Regions from separate parts of the Homo sapiens genome. Here region 2 is linked to region 1. The links are contacts of gene promoters, found by promoter capture Hi-C in blood cells and fetal thymus (Javierre and others, 2016). All regions are on one chromosome and are shown on one strand. Each heading gives the region's core, a stretch centred on a gene start or on the middle of the fragment in contact. The rest is flanking DNA. Distances are from core to core; before and after follow the strand shown. Region 1 holds the start of ATP1A1-AS1 (ATP1A1 antisense RNA 1). Region 2 overlaps LOC112268235 (a long non-coding RNA gene).

Region 1 (7,871 bases), core at 3,302-5,801:
AGAAAGCTTTCCCATGTCTCCCTCCCTTCCCTGTCATGCTTGTTCTTGTCTGCTGAGATCCCTGCTAGTGCGGAGACTCTACCTTGCACACATGCACACTCACACATGCACACACACTCCTATCTCCATTTTTTGAGGACTCTGATCTGCTTCAGCCTTCAAAGGTGCTAATAGGTTAATTTATTTCTCATCCACCCAAGTCACATACCGTATTTCTTCAAATCTAAAATGACATCGATTGCAAGATGCTACATTTATTTATGTACCATTAAAAAAATTATAACTGCAAGAGTCCAGAGATTTGTTAGGCCCTGATTTTAAAGATGTTTAGAAATGATACAGTGTGAGCCTTGCAATCAATGAAATGTATTTAAATTTTGAAGGGAGCCTTTTGTAGGCAATTCCTTAGAGACTCCAATGGTAGAGTGTCAGGCATCTTGGCGGACTGCTGGGGGAGAGGTTTGGAGTCAGATGATGACTGTGTTGTCACACAGTCACATCATGTAGTAAGCTGTTTATTTCACATCTCCAGTGGGACTGGCTCTAGGTGTGAAGATCCAGTGTATAACAAAGTGCAACATACACAAGAAACATGTAAGAAGAGGTGTAGATCTGTCTATAGGAAATTCACAGATGTCCCGTGATGCTGCATAAATCTCATTGACCACAGAAGGCTGTCCCACAAGTGTTCTGAGAACAGCCTATAGTCAATCTTTTTGCCTAGGCACCAGGCTGAGGTAGAGACTTGAGTTCTAACTTTTGTTTTGCTGTTCTCCAGTCCAGGGGCCAAGTGTCCTAGGTGGATGGTTTTTGTCCTTCGTCCTCAGTTCCTCAGGGGAGGCGAAAGACCATGGGCCTTGGGCTTCAATCAGGATAGCTCCACTTTTATGTCTTGGATATTGTTTGTCTGTGATTCTCTATTTTTAAAAAATGTTCCTCTGCTAAATGAAAGCTTGAAAGCCATTGATACAGATGAACTTTATCCTTTTGTCCACTGCTAAAATTCTCAGATTTATTATTTCACTTTAAAGAGGTAGATTATGGAGAAATATTAGATGCTTTCTTCTTTCATGGTAGCATCAAGACAGGAGGGCCAAGAGTTATTCATGTGAGAGGTTGTTCTGTTCCAACTGCTTCCTCCTCACTGTTTCTGCTGCGGCCTCGCCTATAAGTGAGCCCTTGGGAAGGAAGCAGATTTGCCCAGTGTCTTGGTCTCCTATTGCTGCCGTAACAAATCACTACAAACTAAATGGCTTAAAACAACATAAATGTATTATTTTACAGTTTTTTAGGCTAGAAATCTGACATGGGCTAGAATAAAGGTGTTGGCAGGGCCGCACTTTTTTCTGGAGGCTCTAGGGAAGAATCCATTTTCTTGCCTTTCACACTTTCTGGAGGCCACATTTATTCCTTGGTTTGTGACCCCCTTCTTCCATCTCCTCCAGCAATGGCGAGTGAGTAATTTTCACATCTCCCTGATTCTCTTCCATAGTCACATCTCACTCTCTTCTGCCTCCCTCTTCCACGTCTAAGGATCCTTGTGATTACATCGAGCCTGTTAAATTCAGTACAATCTTCCTATTTTAAGATCACTTGATTATCAACCTTAATTCCATCTGCAATCCTGATTTCCCTATGCCATGTAAGTCGTCTTCGGGGCCATTATTCTGTCTTCCACACCTAGAAATAGGAGTTGTAGTGTGACAGAGCTCGTGAGAATCAGAAAAAAAAGTGACACAAAACAAGCTGCAAAGCTATAAGCTAGTCTATTTTGAGTTGTGACCTTATCCCCATGTTATTGCTAGATAATGTTTATTAAACAAGGGACTCATGGAGTAGCACATAAATATTTCATGTGGGATTGGTGTCACAGGTTGAGCTTCCCAGAAGCTGACCCAGAGATGGAAACTTCCATGAGGGACATTTATTAGGAATACTCTTGGGATTAACACCTTTGGAATAGAAGGAAAATGAGAAACAATTTGTGCAGAGAGATAAGTTAGGCTGCAAAGCAGTCTCAACAAAGGTCTCTGCTGACCCCATAGGGAACTTTGAAGGTGGGGTGAGGGTGCCAGACAAGTATACCTCATTGGATGTGGGCTGCTCCAGGAAGGGGGGTGGGGTGTGACCTTGAGTGAGGATCTCTCTTCAGCTAAGGCACTTCCTGGAGAGGTCTGTCTGCCAGCAAATCCCCAGCAGCTTGAGGGAATAAGTTCACCAGTTCTAAAGAGAAATCTGGGTGGTGCACCCCAATGCCCACTACAAAAGGACTCTAGTGTAGGGAGCTTGTCAATGAACTGGGGGCAACTCTCCAAGGCTTAGGTCCTAGAGCAGAGAAAGTGTGGATAGGAAACGTAGGGGTTTGCCCAGACAGGCAAAGAGCTGATTCAGAAAGGATATTTTTTTCATCTTCTACCTATACCCCAGTCCCTGCAGAACTCTGAGGCTCCCTACCCATAGGGAGACAGTCTGCCTGCTGGTCACCTCCTACTCATCACTGGGAATCACAGACAGAACAAGTGGTGGCAACACCGGCCTGAAGATTCTGGACAGTGAGTAGATTTACACAGAGTAAACAAGAAGCTGGACTGAGTTTGGTTTAATCTGTCACTCCAGAAACCCACAAGCTGACAGCAGAGTCAATTCCACAGTATTTATGTGCCTTGGTGGCTGCTGCTCATGGTGGCTATTTCCCATGATCACATCTCATTATTCTTTATTACCTTGTCATCTGGAGGAGGAAGGATATCATCATCAATATTCTGTGAATTCCTAAATTATTTCACTTCTTCCAAATGAACTCTGTCTCACTAGCCTTGTGACCCTGGTGTCCCTCAGAACTCTACGCAGGGCCGGGAGTCTAGTTTAGCCTTAAGTGAAGGCAGAATAAGTGGCTCCCCCACTCAGGGTCACCAGAAAAATCCTAACCCGTGAGAATCTTCCTACCCTGTTTTCTGATGTCTGAAGTCCCAGGGCACAAAATTTTCAACTTCAAGCTCTGATCCCAATTAAATGTAGACACTCTCAGAAAGGGTCACTATCTCTTAATGAAACTGCATTTTAGCCGGGCGCGGTGGCTCACGCCTGTAATCCCAGCACTTTGGGAGGCCGAGGCGGGCGGATCACAAGGTCAGAGATCCAGACCATCCTGGCTAACACGGTGAAACCCCGTCTCTACTAAAAACACAAAAATTAGCCGGGCGTGGTGGCGGGCGCCTGTAGTCCCAGCTACTCAGGAGGCTGAGGCAGGAGAATGGCGTGAACCTGGGAGGCGGAGCTTGCAGTGAACGGAGATCGCGCCACTGCACTCCAGCCTGGGCGACAGAGCGAGATACCGTCTCACAAAAAAAAAAAAAAAAAAAAAAAAAGTGCACTTTAGATGTTTTCCTGGTGGGGGGGGGGGGGAGTGGGATATAAGTAGCAGTGTTCCAAGTACCAAAACCTCCCTGAGTCATCTGTGAAAAGCCATTTGGCAATAATACTGAAAGCTTTTAAATGCTCACATTCTGACTTAGCAGTTTCACTCCTGTGAATATAACCTAAGGAAACTGATCTCAATACTGAAAGGACTTTATACACAAGAATGGGCTGGGCAGCAAAGTGCTGTAATCCCAGCACTTTGGGAGGCCGAGGCCGGGTCGAGGGAGAAGCACCTGAGGTCAGAAGTTCGAGACCAGCCTGGCCAACATGATGAAACCCCGTCTCTACTGAAAGTACAAAAATTAGGTGGGCGTGGTGGCAGATGCCCGTAATCTCAGCTACTCAGGAGGCTGAGGCAGGAGAATCTCTTGAACCTGGAAGGCGAAGGTTGCAGTGAGCTGAGATCGCGCCACTGCACTCCAGCCTGGGCGACAAGAGCGAGACATCGTCTCAAAAAACAAACAAACAAACAAACAAACAACCAAACAAAACAAAAAAGAATGAATAATTTATAATCGTGAAGCTTTGGAAGCCACTTGAATGTTGAACATTTGCGAGATGCTCAGAGAAGTGACAGCGTATCAACCCAATTTTTTAAAGTCCTGCCATTAAAAATTATAGGTAGGAAGCGTCAGTACTAACACGGTGAAAATGTTCATGTTACAAAGTGGAAAACAACCCTGGATTCAGTTTAGTATGTGCGTTTTACCACAGCTATGTAGAAACAAATCCATACACATGGAAATCGAATGAAGTGAAACGCATGCAAATGGTAATGATGCTGTGCTTGGAGGCAGAATTGGAAGCAGTGTTAAAGTTATTTATCATCATTCGTGTTTTTAAAATGCCGTGTGATGGCCGCAATACTTCTGTAACGAATGATGTTTAAGCACGGAGCCCTTCACTGGCCGACGCGCGGGTGGGAGATAGGAGCCGCGCCCAAGCTCAGGTGGCGGCTGCGGGCAGGGCCGCCTGGGGCCGCAGCCGGGCGCGCTCCCGGCGGGGACCCTCTGCTCTCCTTGCAGACGGAGGCCGCGCCGGGTTTGGAGGCATCCCACAGCCTCAGGCCGAGGACCCGCCGCGAAGCGCCGCCTCCGCGGGTTGACCCTCTGCAGCCGCCGTAGCGCAGAGACGAATCCGCGCTCCCCCAGGCTGTCGCGCGAGCTCCCCGGAAGCTCCCACCTGAGCGGCGCATCCTCAGGGCCTGGGCCTGGCCTCCTTGCCTGTGAGATGGCACTGTGACGGTGCCCACCTCGTGGGGTGTGTGAGGGCCGAGTGAAATCGTGCATTTGCGGTAAGAAAGTGCTTATCACGGTGCCCAGTCCTAATATGGGCTGCCAGCCTAAGTACAGAGTCCCAATCCCAGCCCAAAGGCCAGTTTCCAGGTGAACCCTTGTCGGGGAGACCACCAGACGGAACAGTCCCAGTCTACACTCCTGCACCGAGCAGGGGACAGTGTGGACCGCAGAGAGGTCCGAAGTCCCTTTAGAATAAGGATGGTGCTTCAGGGTTGTTAAAAGGATTAAATGAGATGATATCTAAAGGGATTAGCACAGTGGCTGGTGCTAAAATAAATCATTTTCTCTACTGCCACTGCTCTTACAACCAGACGCCTGGAACAGCCTGCTGGTTCGTCTCCTCATTTGTAAGCTGGAGTTAGTAGGTGTGTTGTGAAGGTTGAGAGAATATGCATAGGCAGAACCTGGCGTTTAATATTTGGGAAGTGGCAGCAATTCTTTCTTCATTAATCTACAAGCTGCACTGTGGTAGGCACATACCCTTAGCACCGATTCTTATAAGTGCAGGTAAGAGAGAGAGAAGATATATTGTGTAAGTCGAAGGAGCCAGCCGTGTCCAGGCCACCGCAAAACCTCGACAGTACTGTACCAGGGCCCTCTTCAGTGAATGAATCTCCTCTTTGGCCTGTTTGCTGTCTGTTTGCATTTGCTGCACCCATCAGTTCCCAAACCTGGTCTCTAAAGTCAGGAGCTCAAGGAAGCTTGTCCCAATCCTAGAAAACAAGTACAGCACACACCAACAGCAGCATCCCTAAAAGCCAGCCCTACTGGCAATGCGGGCCCTGCAACCCGTAGGTAAGTGGGACACTCTAAGCTTCTTGGAAACAGCTAACTCAGGGCCTGATTAGCTTACTCCCGCCTCCTGTCTTCAGGAAATCAGACTGTGTAAAATAAGAGAGAAAAGAAAATTGACATAAGTCTATTCCACTGTCTAATGAAATGTGTTTCACTTGTGTTTAAAGTGAATTGTGGGCTGGCGTGGTGGCTCATTTGCCTATAATCCCAACACTTTAGGAGGCCAAGGCAGGCAGATGGCTTGAGCTCAGAAGTTTGAAATCAGCCTGGCAACATGCAAAAACCCCATCTCTACAAAAAATATAAAAATTAGCAGGATGTGGTGGCGCATGCCTGTAGTCCCAGTTACTCTGGAGGCTGAGGTGGGAGGATGGCTTGAGCCTGGCAGGTCGAGGCTGCAGTGAGCTGTAATCATGCCAGTGCACTCCAGCCTGGGTGACAGTCAGGTCCTGTCTCAAAAAAAAAAAAGTGAATTGTAGTACCAGCTACATTTGTAGAGCCCTTTCTCTTTACAGTCATGGTGCTAAATTCTCTGATCTCATTTAATCCTCCCAACCACCCTCACAATGCTGTGTCCATTTTACATATTGGAAAGCTAAGACTCAGGTTAAGAGAGACTTGTTGAAGGTCACAGCTAGTAAGCTGCAGAGAACCAGAAAGTGAATCTGGGTTGATCTTGACTCTAAACAGTTTGCTTTTAACAACTATACTCCTTTGAACATATTTACCCTATTTTCTTCATTAAGTAAAATGTTTTCTGTATCTTAATTTTCAGAACCTCTAATACAACATTTTGCAGAACGTATTTTCTAAGTATCCCCGATCCCCGCAATCCAGGCTGCCTTCTGTAACCTTTTAGTCATTGCAAACACATAGTAGATGCATGCTGAATTTGTGAGCTTGGCACCACACATGACAGGCTTTGGTTAGGGAATTCAGCTGCAAGCAACCAAACCCTCAGAGCCAAAGCCAGGGGTGCTAGGACCTCTGGCCCTGCAGTGGCCCTGATATGGCCTTTGTGTCCTGCCTCAGAGGCCTTTCTATCCCCACAGTTACTGGGACAAAATGTCCTATGCTTTCACCCTTATGTGGCTCCAGATGTAGGATTTAATTTTTTAGAAATCTGCAATACTGCAGCAGAAATGTAGTTATGAGTCAGGGATGTGTATGTGTGTGTGTCTGTGTGTGAAAGCCAGTCTCTCAGCACCAGCTAAAAATGTGAAGCAGCAAGTCTGTGCTGGGAATTGAGGACACCATATGCTTGCATTTCTAGGTCTTCCTAAGAGTTATATAACTGCCCCTAAAGCCAGGGGGCAGGAGCAGGGCCAGCCGTGGGAGACGTTTCCAAAGAGGAATGCTGAGGAAGGACTGACCTTGAGGAGACAGGGAGTTTGCCAGGCTGTGGAATGTTCCCAGCCTTGGGGCTTAAACAAAAACTGTATTCAGAGGGTGAGTGCTCTGTTGAGAACAAACCCTATCTGTCTCCTGCTTTGTCTCCGGAGCTTATCAAGGTGAGCCCTTTCTCTGCAGGTTCTGGATATTGAATTTAGAGGTGGGCACAGCTGCCAGAGCAAGGCCCTAGTAATCCTCCCAGCCATCTCTAATTAGCCGACTTCAGGGCCCTCCCCCCCCCCAACCCTTCTGTGTCCTGAGGGTCAGGCAGAGGGGAGATAAGAGCTCTCATCTATTCATAGAATAAGGTTGCAGAAAGGCACCCTGGGAGGAGAGCTGTGGGAGGGAACACAACCAATCAACAAAGGTTTATCAAGGGCTCACTCTGTGGTCACACTTGGGGGAGGGAGGTATCTGATTGGCCCCATCCTGCTGAGGGCCTCTGTACAGTATTCTTTCCTAGAAAACACCCTCCCCACCATCCTCGCTCCCCACTGCAGATCTTACTTGACTAAAGCCCATTATTCTTACAGGCCTCAGTTCAGAGGCCTGAGACCTAGAGCAATGTTTTTCAAACTGTGGGTCATGACCCATTAGTAGCTTGTGTAATTAATTTAGTAGGTTACATTGAGCATTACCGTCCCCCACACCCTCCAGAAAAACAAAGACAAAAAGATTAAAGGAAATAGAAAAGAGGCTATCTGAGCACATTAGACACCATGAAGTTAAGTGCTGTTTGTTATGTGGATGCGGGATCATGATATAAAAAGCCAAATTCTTACTGGTGATTGCGATTAAAAAAAAAAAAAAGATTCAAAAACCCCTGGCTTAGAGGCTGCATCTGTCCATATCCTTCTCACTGCAAGTGTCAGAAATCCTGGCTCAATCTAACTTAGATGAGGAGGACATTTATTATCTCACTTAAAGGGAAGACTAGAGGTGATGCAGGCCCCAAGGTGGTTAATA
Region 2 (7,871 bases), core at 1,834-4,333, 79 kb before region 1:
TGACTTTCTATGTCTGTAAATTGGGAATAATGATACCTATCTCACTGGGTTAAATGAGAACATGTACATACTGTGCTCAGCATAGTGTCTGGGATCTGTGGCAGCAGCTATTTTCATGGCAATTATTCTGTATGTATGACATAACTTTAAAACTTCTCTAGGGACCAACAAGGCAATGCAATCAAACACCAGCACAGCCAATAAGGGGCAATACGGAGTGGTGGGGACTGTGGCAAACTGGAGAATCCTTACCTGTCCAAAGAGGGCAACAGCTCCTCTTTAGTTTCAGCTATTAGCTACTGAGCAAGAACTCAAAACAAGTGCTTTCTGACTTTTCCAGAAATGCTGGAAATCCTAATGCATAATTTTGTTATCCAATTCAAATAAAAAACTGCAAACAATAACAACCACCAGAATTAGCAACACTATGGAACACAAAAAACAGGTTCTGGAGCAAAGCTAGGCTGAAAGCAGCTAAAACAAAGTTTTACAAAGACCAAGCTGTTCTGGGAAGTCAGATCTGCCTCACAGAAAAGACTCTAAAAGCATGTGAAAGGTCATAATAAAATCAGGTGCAGGCCAAGCGCAGTGGCTCATGCCTGTAATCCCAGCACTTTGGGAGGCCGAGGCGGGCAGATTACCCGAGGTTGGGAGTTCGAGACCAGCCTAAACAACATGGAGAAACCCTGTCTCTAGTGAAAATACAAAATTAGCTGGGCACGGTGGCACATGCCTATAATCTCAGCTACTCAGGAGGCTGAGGCAGGAGAATCGGTTGAACCCAGGAGGCAGAGGTTGTGGTGAGCCGAGATCGTACCATTGCACTCCAGCCTGGGCAACAAGAGCAAAACTCCGTCTCACAAAAAAAAAAAAAAAAAAGAAAAAGAAAAAGAAAAAGAAAAAAAAATCAGGTTTGAAGGAAGCGTTCCAAATACATTCTGTGAAATGGCAGCATTGTTAGAACATGCAGGCACCAACCTCCCTCGGGAAGGATTTTGAAGAGGACAATGCTCATTGGGTTTTAGGTACTGGGGCAATTACTCAAATGTAATAATCTTGAACACACCCAGCTTCTGGGAGCCTGGAAGGTGTTTGCCGAGCTGCTTTTAGGGACAGTGATACCAGCAATATCCACTGGGGGTCTCTCTCATACAAATAATGGCATAGCTGTTCCCAGCAGTTAGAGGAAATGGCAGCCCTGGGACCTGGGGGGATCCAAGGGCAGTCCACGTCTCCATGGGAAGATGGCAGCAGCTCTGTGGCTCTTCACAGTGAAGTGACGACCTGTTGTTAAATGTTTAACAGAAGCCAAACTTGGCTTTTAGGGGACAGCTCTCCTGCCAGCCAGCCAGCTTGCCAAAGGAATCTTTCCTGTGCACAGAGAGCACACTGGGCTTGGAGACATTCTCTGCACAGTGGGATTTGGTGAGAATCTTAAGAGTTTCTGTTCAAGGTCAGTTTGTCTCTCTCAGACCGTGGCACCAAGGAACCTGCTGCTACCCTACTTGATGGGGCTGAACAGGAGATATATTCCACGCTTCACAATTGCCACCTTTCGGGAGCGGCTTCACCAGGTGAAGAAGCCCTGGTTTAGAGATGAGATCTGGGTTTGGGTTCTGGTTCTGCCCCTCATTAGCCATGTGACCTTGAGCAAGCCTTATCCTTTCTCGTTCTCGGTTTCTTCATCTGTAAGATTAGGAATACTCATCTCTAATACTAATCTCAAAAATTGTTTTGAGTGTTAAATAGGAACGAATGCATATGAAACTTTAGAGAAGGGCTTGGCAGATGTTTTCTATGAAGGGACAGATAGAAACTATTTTTGGCTTTATTGACCTTACAGGCTCTGTCTCAACTACAGAATTCCACGATTGTAGTAGCGTGGAAGCAGCCATAGGCAATTCATCAAGAGATCAGCAGGGCTGTGTCCACTAAAACTTTATTTTACAAAAACAGGCAGTGGGCTGGGTCTTGCTCATGGGCTGTACTTTGCCTATCCTCACAGCCTGTTTCTGTGAAGCCCGTGAGCTCAGGATGGTTTTATGTTTCTAAAGGGTTGTAAGGAAAAAACAAAGAAAAGGTGACAGTGCCCAGAGCGAGTATTTACCACCGGCTTCTTGGAGAAGCTGGCTGGCTCCGCTCTAGAGCATTGCAGGAAAGTCAGCCCAGGAGGCAGGCAGCTGTGTCCCTGAGTATCAGGGGGCCTGCCTGGTAAGTCACAATGAAACAGACAGTGGCCAGATGACCCCTGGGCCCTATCCAGCTCCAGGGGCTAGGGTCCACATGACTCTGATGACCGAGCTCAGGGGCTAGAGGAGGGAAGGGAAATGGCCCCCTAGTTCTCTTTTCAGTTGTCTATTTCAGATGGTCCTTATGAAAGAGGATCAGCAAAGCTTCCATCAGAAAATGAACCAATAATCAAGTGAATGGGGCTTTCGTTTCCTGAATTGTCTCTAGCCTGTGAGGCTGTGCTTCCATATGGAACTTCTGAGTTCTCTACGAACTCGAACAATGAGTCATGGGCGAGCCCAGGACTCCCACCCACTTGGAGTCATGGGGCTCTGACATGGAGACAAGACCACAGGGTTTCTGTCAGGCCAGAGCCCTGACCCCTCAGCTAAGATGTTTCTTCTTTGTTCTAGATTCAGTCATATAAGCAGAGGCAGCAGGTACTAGGCCTCAGAGTAATAGTCCCTGAAGAAAATAAAGAGAAAGTCTGTCTGAGAAAAGCCAGTTGTGCCAGTTAAAGAATGACCTATGGCCACAATGCCTTACTGGAGGGTGCTTGGGAGCCCATGTCCTCATGTCTGTTGTATCGGGTTAGGGAGATCCTGGTGCATTTCAGTGGGGAGGGGGTTGCTGCTGGTCGTGTTTTCACTCCTTCTCTCTCCTTCCCCAGTGACCCCAAGACAAAATGCTGTTAGGTAAGTGGGGTCTGCTTAGCCCCACTAAGTTCCCCCATCCACCATTAGGAATCAGTGGTATTGTTATAGTCTACCAGGACCGACCTGGTGCTGCTCAGAACCAGGGGCTCAAGGCAGGGCCTCCCTTCATCTTCTTAAATTATTCTCTAGCAGCTCTGAGTCTCCCAAAGATTGGTCCTAGAGAAAAGACTATGTCATTTACTGCTTTTTCTGATGGTAAAAACATGCATATTTACTGCAGAAAATTTGAAAAATAGAGAAATGTGTAAAGAAGAAAACGTACAAAATAACTTTAGACTCAAAACCAATCTGATTAAATCAGGAAATCATTATTTATTGAGCACCTACTATGTGCCAGCCACTGTTGTTCTTGGTGCTGGGGACATAGCAGTGAAAAAAAAACAAAGTCCTCCCCTTCGTGGAGCCTATATTTCAGTAGGGACAGTCAGTACAGTACAGGAAGGGGCTGGGCTGATGGAACAGGATGCCTTTTTTGATAGGGTGGTCAGGACAAGAGGAAGCAAGGGATGCAGCTATTTGGGGAAGAGTGTTTCCAGCAGAAGGAAGAAGACCTGCCCAGGTGTCGGATAAGAGCCTGCTTGGTGCATTCAGGGATACGAAGGAGGCCAGCGTGGCTGAGATGAGGTAGGGGCAGCCGGGGTGAGAACAGGTGGGACTTGCCGGCCATGAAGAGGACCTTGGATTGCTGTTGAGTGAAATGGAAAGCCAAATGTAGGGTCTTGAACAGAAGAGGGACATGATGAGCCTTATGTTTTGAAATGATCATTCTGGACACCAGATGGAAAATAGACAGGGGCTGGGGGTGGGGTTGGCAAGGGGAGAAGCTTGGAAGCCATTTGGTTATTGCGAAAGTCACACAAAGCTGTGAAAGCAGAGCTGGCCTGGTTGAAGGAAGGGTGGAGGTGGGGGGAGGGCCGGCATTTCCTCCCACTGAGCCTCTGCCCTTCCCTTTTCCTGCTCTCTGAGGTTCCACCATGGGACCCCAGGGTACCTAGGATTACAATTTGAAAGCTATTGGACTAGAGGTTCTCTAAGGGCCCTTCCAGCTTTGCCTCCTGTGCTCTTGTGTTTCAGGACCATGCTGATTCTGTGGGACCAGGCCCGGGCTCTACCAGCCAGGCCTCTGAACATGTCAACTTGAGAACTGAACAGGTTCAGGGTCTAGGAAGGGGAGACATTTCAAAATTTTAATTAAAAAATATTTTTAACGTTTAAATTTTTGTAGAGACAGGGTCTTCCCATGTTGCCCAGGCTGGTCTCAAATTTCTGGGCTCAGGTGATCCTCCCGCCTTGGCCTCCCAAAATATTGGGATTACAGACATGAGCCATGAGATTTGGAAACTTAATTCAGCTCCCACATACTAAACGTGGCCAGCCCTGTGTGGGGATTGTAAGAGGGGATAAGTAAGAGGAAATGTCTGCTCCAAGAAACTCACTGGCTGGGATGGGAACTAGGGAATCACACAAATGGCCCAGCCCAAAGTCTGAGAGGCCCCGGCCCCTCCCTGCCTGGCCTTTTTTCCATGTGGCCCCTGAGCCAGTGGTTCCCAAACTGGGCAGGTCATGGGGTCATCGAGGAACTTCAGAATATGCAGATGCCCAGACTGTGCCCTCAAAGATTCAAATTCAGTTAGTCGAGGGTGGGTGGGGCCTGGGAATCTGTTCAGACAAAGGCCTGGCCTGAAGCCTGGGCTGGAGGGTTCAGTCCAGACAGAAGAACAGAGACTGATGAGAGGGCTTCTGCCAGCTTCACCAAGCCCGTGCTAGGCAGGATGTGGAAATCAAGCCTGTCTTCCAGTGGGGCACGGGGGTGGGGAGCTGGAGGAGGGGGTGGCAGCTCCTTTATCAGCTGTCCCCATCAGAGGCCCTTCTCCCAGGAAGGAATGTTTAAAAAACTCCCAGGAAGGAATTGCTGGGTTTGGAGACTATGAGAATTCCCCATCTCCCCCAATCTCCTCAGCCACCTCAAATCAACCAGCCCGTCTCCCCATGTTTGGGTTAACTCCTTATTGGCTCGGAATGTCTCGCCTGGGTTGACTACTGATCTGTGAGATCGCTTAGTGGCCTGAAATATTTCCAGAATACAAGCAACACTGACAAAAATATTCTTGTAGGGCCCCACAAATCTCACTGAGAAAGAACCCCTACAGGTGGAGAGGAGTGTGGGGTATGCAGACTGGAAGGTGGGACCCTGATTCATTCCAGAACTGGAAGGAAATCAGACATTTCCAAACAGGAGAGAGATGGGAAGCCGGAGGAAGGAGCAGGAGGAGGGAAGAGAATGAATCTTATGTGAATGAATGGTAATTTTCTCTCAGTTACTGGGAAGAAAAAAAAATAACAAAATCAGACCTTGGTCTGGTCCACTAAAAAGAATTCTCTGAGTCAGACTTCTTTCATGGAAGTTGTGAACTTTATCCTCTGGCAGCCATTTATCTAATATTAAACCCCTTAACCTTCCTAATTGTTCTCTTTCAGTATCAGCTGGTTTCATATTAACCTTTCAGTCTTTCCCATAATGCAGTTACCTCCAACTCCCGCCAGACCCAATTCAGAGCTGCCATCAGGTCAGACCTTTGCCTGCTCTTGGCAACACGTCCCCCTGTCCTGCTCCTCTGCAACCTGCCCCTCTTTTTCTTCATGTGCTGTGAAGGCACCATGTGGATGGGTGTTCAACTTCTGGATTGGGGATGCACAGAGCCTGAGGGACACACTTTGCAAACCTGCACCTTGCACTTTTGGGTTCTGGCCTGCAAGGTCTCCTTTATTCTTTTGGACCAAGGCTGTCCCTGGGAGAGGGCAGCCGCCGGCCTGTCAGAGCAAATCAGCCTCAGGCGGTTTCTGCGGCTCTGGTATTTGAGCTTTGTTTTCCCTCTCTCCCGGGAAGAACTCATTGAAATAGTTTCTCTGGGAAAGACAAAGCGTCTCGCCCAGATGCTGAAGGATCACTTGGTAACTGCCTGTCTTGGTTTCCCGTTGTGCCCATGAAGGCGCCATCAGCTCTAAAGCTGACCTGTGGTTCCGTCTCCAAACAGCTAACCCAGACGTCACCCCCTTGCAGCCAGCCGCACAGCCTGAGTTGGAGTTCTGGCCTCTCCTAGCAGTGAGTGACAGTGTTGGAGGGGCCTTGGACACCTTGGGTAATTGCTAACTAAATATGAGCAGTAGGGGAAGGTCTTCTGGTCCACGGCAGAGCCAACGGGGCACTTCCTCTTCTCTTTTCTAGTCAGGGTAGAAAGCTAGAAAGAATCCTAAAAATCACTATCCAAGTCCCCATTGTGTGGGGACAGAGGCCTGGCCTGAAGCCTAGGCTGGAGGGTTCAGTCGGAAGCAGAAGCCGGGAGACTGCATGAGAGGGTTCCTTCCAGCTTCACCAAGCCCGTGCTGCGCGGGATGAAGAAAGTCAAGCCTGTCTTCCAGTGGGGCCCTGAGGTGGGGGAGCTGGAGGATAGGGTGGCAGCTTTTTTATCAGCTGTCCCCAAAAGAGGCCCTTCTCCCAGTTGCCACGGACCAAAGCTCCTCCTGGGAGCTCCAGCCTGTCTGTTCAATGTTTGCCTTGCGCCTTTTCCTGGTGAGGCCACCCCCGGCACCATCTCAGGCCTCAGAAGGACGACCTCACTGAAACAGCCCTTAGGTTGGGAAAGAAGCAAGCCCTCCGCGCCCCGTCCAAGTCTCTCAACTGGGCACGAGCACACACAGACGCCCAGGCCCTGTCCCTGCGCCAGAATGGCCGCTCGCGTTTCCAGGCACGATGCCCCTTTCCATGAGTGCACAGAGCCCTGGGCTGAGCTGGGGGCCGAGCTCCACGCTCTCTGAGCAGCTCTGAGCGGCACGCCAAAGAAGGTCTTTCAGATGGGCTCTGGGATGTGGAACCATGGCGTCCAGCCCTAGCGTCGACTCCACACTAGAGGCACCCTGACTTTCGCCCCCTTCTTACCTGAGTATCAGCTTACTTCCATCTGGGGACTGAATATGGGGCAGATTCCAGAAAAAGGAGGTTGGGGCACCAAAACCAACACCAACTCTGCCAACGGAGCCAGCACAGCTATTTGTCTCCAACCACAGGCCGCAAGGGAAGTTCACGGGCTCGGCACCCCCAGGTCCCGGATGTAAGGATATTGCCCGTTAGACAAAGGAAAGGCCCCAAGTCCACAACTCATGTTTGTGAGCTTAACCTTGTCCTATAAAGCACTTTGGAACAGGCCCAGGTTCTCCCACCATGTACAGCTGCCATTGACCTGGACAGTCCCGCAAGGTCCTTCAGTGGAAACCCAGAAGGGAGAGTCACTGCATGTGAACCCTAAGGGTTCTGGAGGTCAAAGTTGCTGTGGGTGACAGGCAACCAAGACTAAGGGCAAACTTGAAACATAAATGAGTTAAAACCCACAAAAATAAGACAGTTTTAAATAACTAAACTGTTTTCTCATTCTTCCTTTTTCATCTGAGGACGTTTTAGGCAAATGAAGCTTTAGAGTTTTTCTCCTTTCATTGGGTTGACAGTGTTTAAAATTATATCCAGAGCTGTCTAATTTGCCTATTGCTCTAGGCATACTGATCCTCAGGAGGTAAGATTGGATGGGTTAAAGTGGACAGGCTCAGGGGCTGAGACTGTCCATCTCTCTGAGAGTCGGGGGCAGCATTTATCAGGGGCCTGTGGTCAGCCAAGCTTGGCTTGGGCTCTGTGGGAAGATAAAACCAACTGGCCCAGATGGACTTCTGTGGGGCCTGGATACTGTTGGGAAGATAAAGCACATAAGCCCGGTAAGAAAAAAAAAAAAAAAAAAAAAAAAAAGCCCAGGAGAAGGAATGCAAGTGATTCCAATGCAATTGAATTAAGTACAAACTCACTAGGAATGGGGGGGGGGGTTTGATTGGCGAAGGGGTTAGTCAGGGGTGGTTAACCACAGAAGATTGAGGAGGTGAACT

Evidence for each region. The method cuts DNA at HindIII sites, captures the fragments that hold promoters and counts their contacts. A CHiCAGO score of 5 or more calls a contact.
Region 2: a fragment that was not itself captured here is called in contact with the fragment with the promoter of ATP1A1-AS1 in region 1 in 1 of 17 cell types (M2 macrophages); the score reaches 5.1 in M2 macrophages.

The regions. Positions count from the first base shown.
Region 1 is chr1:116,415,302-116,423,172 of GRCh38, reverse strand. It overlaps ATP1A1-AS1 (ATP1A1 antisense RNA 1), which reads left to right and starts at 4,551. Exons shown (of 3, transcript NR_027646.1): 1 at 4,551-4,714. RefSeq lists a silencer at 4,343-4,472 and enhancers at 4,432-4,726, 6,908-7,409. The HindIII fragment of the contact is 1,476 bases long and covers 3,946-5,421 here.
Region 2 is chr1:116,492,505-116,500,375 of GRCh38, reverse strand. It overlaps LOC112268235 (a long non-coding RNA gene), which reads right to left. Exons shown (of 2, transcript XR_002958352.2): 1 at 6,883-7,871. Among named protein-coding and RNA genes, the nearest start is that of LINC01762, 18 kb to the right of the region's middle. RefSeq lists an enhancer at 1,242-1,341. The HindIII fragment of the contact is 1,376 bases long and covers 2,396-3,771 here.